Linked DNA regions of Homo sapiens: region 2 is linked to region 1. The links are contacts of gene promoters, found by promoter capture Hi-C in blood cells and fetal thymus (Javierre and others, 2016). All regions are on one chromosome and are shown on one strand. Each heading gives the region's core, a stretch centred on a gene start or on the middle of the fragment in contact. The rest is flanking DNA. Distances are from core to core; before and after follow the strand shown.

Region 1 (3,737 bases), core at 544-3,043:
ACAGGTCAGGGACTGGGCCTGAACACACAGAGTGCGGCTTCTTAGATCCAGGTGCGAGGCCTCGGGCCCAGTAGGCTGCAAACTTCAGCTGGGCAGCTGAGCCCTTTTATCAACATGCAGACACCAGCAAGCAACTTGCCAAAGGCCCCCTGCTCAGCCCATGGGGAACACAGAGGGCCAAGCCTGGCCTTGGGCCATTTGCTTCACTTCTCTGAGCCTCAGTTTCCTCATCTGAGCAGTGAGCTAGCAATCCCTCCTTACAGGATGTTTTGAGGAGCCAGCAGGGGGCCAGGCAAGCAATGAGTATTCCAGGGGTGGCAAAGGACCCTGCGGCCTTGAAAACACATTTAGGTTTCAGCCCAGACTTGCTGCCAGAAACAAGGGCAGCTATTTCTTCTAGCTGGGCAGGAGGGCACCAAGGATGGGCCCTCCAGGCATGGGCACAGGCTTGAGAGCCAAAGCAGTGCCCGTCAACATGGCCTCTTTCATCTGAGCATCAAAGCAAATCACCAAAGTGGAACCAGTTTCCCTCAGCCTGGCAGCGCCTGCTGGCGGGTTGCCAAAGACAGGGAAAAGGAGCAGGAATTCCTGGTGGCCACCTCGGCAGCCTGATCAGGTGCACACCAAGACACACCCCCGAGGAGCAATGTCCTCCAGAGACCCAAGAAGGCAGCACCCTGTGCTGGGAAGTATGCAGGGTCAGAGTGAGTTCAGGCCTGGGTTCAAATCCTGGCTCAGCCACTCTGTGGGGCCCTGGGCAGATCATTGCACCTTTCTGAGCCTCCGTGATCTCACATGTCCAGTGGAGAGAATAAGGCTACTGTCACTGGCCTGGGCCTGCAGTCAGGAAGGTCTCACTACAAAGGCCCTTCCCTCCCCATCCCATGCGGAGTCTGAACTGAGCAGAGCCAATCCCAAAGAGGAAAGGGGAAACGTGCAGGGCCGTCCCAACCCCCAAGTCACAGTAACTCACAGTGCCCTAGACTGGGGCTCTGGACATCAGAGTTCCTCAGGAGACCTTAGAAATCACCATGCAGCAGGCTCCCTGCTGTCTACTCGCTAAGGCTACAAATGGGTAAACTGAGACCCAAAGAGGGAAAGGGAATTGGCCACACCGTACAGCAGTAGATCAATAACCTAGAGGCTCTGGCGCTATCTCACTGTGTGGTCTTAGGCCCTCACTGACCTCAGTTTCCCCATCTGTACAGGAAGAATGGGCATTCCAGGACTCAGTGCCCAAACCTGAAACTCTGGGGGGTGTTATTGCCCCCAGGGAGCCCAAGGCTGGAAGGACCTGCAAAGGGGGCATGAGCTCTTGGCATCCCAGGTCTGCTGTCATCAAAGAGCCATGGGCTCAGCCCTGGGCTTGGTGCAGCTCCAGACGTCAGCCAGCTCTCTGAGTAGCTTCTGCTCCCCAGAGACCTGGAAGACCAAGGTCCCTGCCTCATGCATGGTCCCTGAGGGCTGAGGAGCACCCCTGCCCTGACCCTTATAAGCACCATGGTCCCTGTCTGCTCCTGCACCAGCCCACTGCCCACCACTGCCGCCCTGCTCCCTTCCCCATCCTGGATCCCGTGTGCTCCCTGCCATATCGGTACCCAGCCCCCAGTGCTGAGGGTCAGGGCCCACTAGCTCAGTAGCCCCCATCTCACGCAAGCCCCCTCACCTCTGGACTGGGGGGCGAGGCCAGGGCTGCACAGGGCCTGGAGCAGCAGCAGCAGGCTGCAGAGCATGAGGCTAGTGCCAGAGAGGACCCTCATAGTTCTGGCAGCACGGGCAGCAGCCGGCACGGTTGTGGGACCAGTGGGGTCCAGGTCTTATCAACCCCACTGCCCGCCCAGCCTTTGGGTCAGGTGGCCCCCAACTGACGACTGACGTGGGGGCAGCCCGCCCTGGCCCCCAGCCCCCCCAAAGGGCGGGGCTTGGGCTGAATGGAGGTGTGTGTGCCCTGAGAGGGCGGGAGAGCCTGGCCCAGGCTTCAGAGGCCCCTCTGACCACAAGGGCTCCTTTGCTTGCAGAAGCAACTAGAGCGGCAGCTGGAATTTGGGAAATCTCAGGTGGGTGGGGGGTGGCTCTTCCAGGGGCTGGAGCCCGCGCTGCCTTGAAGCTCCACCCCAAGCCTAGGCATACCTGAGTCCAATGGCCCGGCCCAGCCCTGTCCTGCACCTTCATCCCACACCCAAATCCTTCCCCCACTCACAACCCCAAGTTTCTCATTAAATTCACTTCCCCTTCCCCAGCCTCACTGTGCCCTGCTCTCCGCACACGCCCTGCTCTCCAGCTACCCCTGGATTCTCCTCGAAGGCCTCCAGGCCATCACACATGCAGGGCCATCTGCCCAGAATCCTTTCCTCTCACTAACTCTCTGCCTTGTAGAATCTTTCAAGGTCATAATTAGGGCTAACATGTACCTTCACTGTTAGTATGGGCAGGGCAGTGGAGACCATGGTTAAGAGCACAGACTTGGGAGCCAGGTTACCTGGGTTTGCTATACCAGCAAACCACCTGTGTGACCATGGGCAAGTGACTTCACCTCTCATGTCTCAGATTGCTCATCTGGAAACTAGGGATGGTAATAGCGCCTCCTAGGGTTGATTCAAGGAGCAAAGGAGTTAGATGAGGTTTCTCAGTTAATCCTCTTGACAACTTTTTAAAGCAGCTACTGTTAAAGAACAGAGAGGTAAAATAACTTGTCTGAAGTTACACAGCTAAGAAGTGTTATTGCCAGGATAGAGCCCCAGGCCCGGCTCTCAGCCATGCTGCTGTCTCAGTGTAGCTTGATGTAGGTGGCTTCTCCCTGCCCATCTCTTCCCCCTGTGGGTCCCTGCTTGGCCCACCTCACCTGTCAGCCAGTGGATTCAACTCTGCATCAGGCCCAGCACAGAGAAGGCAAAGATAAAGCCTTCTAAACAAAGTAACATCAGCAGGAACGATCCCCTTCTTTGCATTTGGGTCAAGTAGTTCATGAGATAGAGCAGAAAGAGCATGGGCTTGGCTACCTGAGAGATCCAGGTTCAAAGCCACTTCTGCTCCTAACTGGCTGTGTGACCTGGAGCTGGTGACTTAACCTCTCTGAGCCTCAGCTTGCCATGGTGCAGTGGGAATGGTCGTTCTTGATCTGCCTGCCCCATGTGAGGGGCAAGAGGGGGACAGAAGTGGAAATGGAGTTAAAGGATTGTCATTGCTCCAGGAGGCAGAATCCTAAGACTTGGGACCTATGCACTTCACTCTGTGTAAATTATACCTCAATAAAAGGAAATGTACAGACAAAAAGCGACTGCTGGGTGCAGCAGACCCAACTCACCGCTACCACACTCTTTAGCAATAATTATAACAATCCCTTCCACCCTTGACATGGCAGTTACTCATTCTATCACTCTATCTCATTTGCTCACCCAACAAACCTGTGAAGTCAGCAGATTTGAGTCTCTTGGCCCATTTGTCAGATGGAGAAACTGAGGCCCAGAGAGGTTCACTGACTTACCCGAAGCCACCAGCCAGTTTAGGGGCAGAGCCAAGCCTAAAGCTCAGGCCTCACTCCCCTTTGCACCAGTGTTAGAGAAGGAGGAGGTTAAGAGCATTGCCTTCTGACTTTTTCCCCTTATATTTCATGTGTGCCTAATTCACTGCCCTCCCCAATTCCAAAAACCACTTGAAGCTGCTGATTCCTTTTTCTGCTACAACTTTGAAGTCGAATTCTTCTCCAGAGATGCTGCAAGGTGTGATGATGGTGGTGC
Region 2 (3,737 bases), core at 555-3,054, 290 kb after region 1:
TTTTCAATTGAAAAAAAGTAAAAGACTGGCTTTTTTAACTCGGCAAAATCAAATCAATTTAGACATGTTGAGCTTACTGAGAATTAGTAGCAATCACTTATATTCAACAGTCAGCTAAAAGATACCTAACTGTTCAAATCTGATCATATTAAAAGGAGTTAGAAACTACTGAATTATAAAACCAAATGATAATGTGTTATCCAAGTACAATTTCAAATTCAACAGTAAGCTCTCTGGAGGTAACATCATCCACAGCGTTGGGTAAAATATCCTAGTTTGCCAACCCACTGGCATAAATACCAGCAGTTGCCAAATCTTCACTTAACACACAATAACCAAAAATGTAAATGCATCCAACCTATGAAAAGATAGTTCCTATCCACCCCATCAAGAATCTGGAAATAAAGACTAGTTTTTTTGACAAGGCGAAAAGTAACAGATCACAAGAGAGATGTAGAGTTTGTTTTAAAGAATAACTTAGCAGTAAGAGGATTAAATGATGTGACAATTCCAAAAGAAGATAACAGGAATTAGGAATTGGTCCAACAAAAGCAAAAGAGACCCAAGGAATCAGATGTAGCCAGTATTATCCAGGTGACACATTTAAGGGCAGGGCATATGATGCACAAAGAAGCCTATTCTTATCAAAGCAATTAATGCATCTGGTTAGATAGTAGCTTAATTACACTGGACACTAAAAACACCCAAGTAATCTCCCTGGCTCCAACTCTGCTTACCAAGCCACCTTCTTAAAGAACTGGCTTCCTCCTATAGCCAACCATGCCAATCACCAAACACAACCATCCTTGTCCATCTAAGAGTTGTTTTTTTTCCTTAAAAAAAAAAAATCAGCAGACTGCATTTTGGTTTTCATACATTAGCCTCTTGTTGTTCTGGTTAGTGTGGGGTCAATATCGCAACCCAGTCATCTGAATTAGTAATAACAGTCCATTTCAAGATCTACAAACTGAGAACCATGACTTGGGGAGTCCTATCATCCCCAGCAATAAAATAAATAGACCTTGTACTCTTTCTTGTAATGAAACATTAAGTGGAATTCCTAACTGCCCCACCAATAGTGTGTGCTCTCAAATCTCTGGGAGAAACACACACACGTACACTGTTTATCCCACCCTGAATCGTAAGTTTATAAAATAAAAAAACTTATGAAAAGTAAAAAAAAAAAAAAAAAAAAAATTCAGTAAGCTTATCTATGAGGCTTCTGGAAAACAAAATAGAAGTCAAGCACTGGTTTACAAGCAATGTCAGCCACTTGAGACACTTCTTTTAAATTTGTCTGGAAACACCTTTTTTCCTTTCCATCTAACAAAAAAGAACAATACGCAAAACCACACTTAACACTTAACAATCAATCATGTCATAAACCCCTACACCAAGAACCCTTAAAACATGGATTAAGACAATAAAAAGTGGAGAATATCAAGAAACTCTAAGCTTCTTATTTTAAGAACAGTGATAAAGACCCATGAATGCTCTGAAATCACTTTATTTTAAACTAGTTTTAAATCCCAGCTGTGTGAATTTTATCCTCTTCTGCTTTTTCTCACCTATAAAATGACCTATTGTGTACAATGAAAGAGATAACACATGTAATGACATAATACAATGCTGAAACAGTAAACAAAAAATCAGCTACTATCCTTCTTTAAAAGAGCAAAGTAGCAGCCAATAGACATCACAATACTAATGATTTGTCAATGAAATGCTCCTATGTCAAACTATCAGACACAGTGATCATGGCATCACCTAGGCCATGTCAGTACAAACCTCATTACATTAACTACCCCAACAAAACAACACTACAAGAACCATGATTACGGCTTTTCAGGAACTGCAGAGGCAAGACAATTATTGCCTGGACTTGTTTGACCATACCGCCACTAATATTTGAATAGGGATTTATCAATGAGGTTTACTGATGATCTCAACAGTAAAAGGGCTCTCCAGCAACTACTCTGTACTCAAAAGGAATAAAATATTAGGTAACTGCTTACACACTCAATACAGGCTGCACAGAGCATCTCTCAGAGCAGAAATTGAGCATCTTAAGAAATACTACTAACATGGATGTTACAACCCTGCAGACGTGATCAGTTTGATCATGTTATTATCTAGCATCTCTAACTTACAACACAAGCTTAGTTTCACTGGAATGCAGCCAATGCAGGAAACAAATGCTTGATATTTAACTAGCTGGTAAGACAGACCAACAACCAAAACAATTATTAATCTCTTAGTATATATCTCACCACACTCTCAGTACATTAAGAGAAGATGACATCAACTCAGAGAAAGGACCTTTCAGAACTAACTGAAATGAGGAAGTTTGATTGGTAACCACTGATAATCACAGGTGGTAGTCTTACTTGTAAAAATTTTGTATTTTTCACAACTTATGTAGTCTCTCCATACCACAGACTGTTGTTGTGAAATCAAGTGAGATAGTATATGAAGTGCTTTTATAAATACTAAGAACTATACTGATATTAAGTTATACTAAAGCTTTATTTAAAGCTTTAACTTATTAAAACATATCTTTAAGAAAAGCCAAGTTCATTCATTCCTGGTTAGCGTAATTCTTTTGGAAGGGCCTCAGAAACTACATACGTATCAAAAGTCACAGCCAGGTATGATGGCTGATTCCTGCAATCCCAGCACTTTGGGAGGTGAGGCAGGAGGATAGCTTGAGTCTAGGAGTTAAAGACCAGCCTGGAAAACATGTGACAGCCCATCTCTACAAAAACTTAAAAAAGCCAAGTGTGGTAGCACATGCCTGTGGTCCTAGCTATTCAGGAGGCTGACCTAGGTGGGAGGATCACCTGAGCCCAGGAGGTCAAGGCTGCAGTGAGCCATGATTGTGCCACTGCACTCTAGCCTGGGCAACAGAGCAAGATCCAGTCTCCAAAAAAAAAAAAAAAAAAAAAATCTACATTCAAAGTGCTTGTAAAAATAAAAAAAAGTCGAGGCTGGATGCAGTGGCTCATGCTTGTAACCCCAGCACTTTAGGAGGCTGAGGTGGGAGGGTCACTTGAGGAGTTCAAGACCAGCCTGAGCAACATGCCAAGACCCAATCTCTATTTTTAAACATTAAAATTAAAAAAAAAAGAATTAAAAAAGTTGAAAGTAGGCCTGTAATCTCAGCACTTTGGGAGGCTGAGGCGGGCGGATTGCTTGCGGTCAGGAGTTCAAGACCAGCCTGGACAACATGGTGAAAACCTGTCTCTACTAAAAATACAAAAATCAGCCAGGCGTAGTGGCCAGGCGCCTATAATCCCAGCTACTCGGGAGGCTGAGGTAGCAGAATCACTTGAACCCAGGAGGCGGAGGTTACAGTGAGCCAAGATCGCACCACTGCACTCCAGCCTGGGCGACAGAGCAAGACTGTGTCTCAGAAAAAAAAAAAAAAGTTGAAAGCAAACTGCAAACTAAGTATTCAACAATAAATTAGCTGTGGGCCTGGTGCAGTGGCCCACACCTATAATCCCAGCATATTGGTAGGCAGAAGGATCACTTGAGGCCAGGAATTCAAGACTAGCCTGTGCAACATAGTGAGACCCTGTCTCTTTAAATAAATAAATAAGCAAGCAAACAAGTTGTAGTACAACAATGTAAGCTCACCAAAAATAGCCATAATGACTACATGTAATATTTATAAAATAACATTAAATTTTAAAAGTAAAATACAAAATTGTACATGTAAAGACTGCTTCTCCTCA

What was found. The method cuts DNA at HindIII sites, captures the fragments that hold promoters and counts their contacts. A CHiCAGO score of 5 or more calls a contact.
Region 2: a contact is called between a fragment that was not itself captured here and the fragment with the promoter of MATN1 in region 1, in 1 of 17 cell types (naive B cells). The highest score is 5.4, in naive B cells.

Annotation. Positions count from the first base shown.
Region 1 is chr1:30,721,792-30,725,528 of GRCh38, forward strand. It overlaps MATN1 (matrilin 1), which reads right to left and starts at 1,794. Exons shown (of 8, transcript NM_002379.3): 1 at 1,667-1,794. The coding sequence starts at 1,760. All of the region lies in intron 2 of MATN1-AS1 (MATN1 antisense RNA 1), which reads left to right. The HindIII fragment of the contact is 11,974 bases long and covers 1-3,737 here.
Region 2 is chr1:31,011,378-31,015,114 of GRCh38, forward strand. All of the region lies in intron 3 of PUM1 (pumilio RNA binding family member 1), which reads right to left. Among named protein-coding and RNA genes, the nearest start is that of SNORD103C, 45 kb to the left of the region's middle. The HindIII fragment of the contact is 703 bases long and covers 1,454-2,156 here.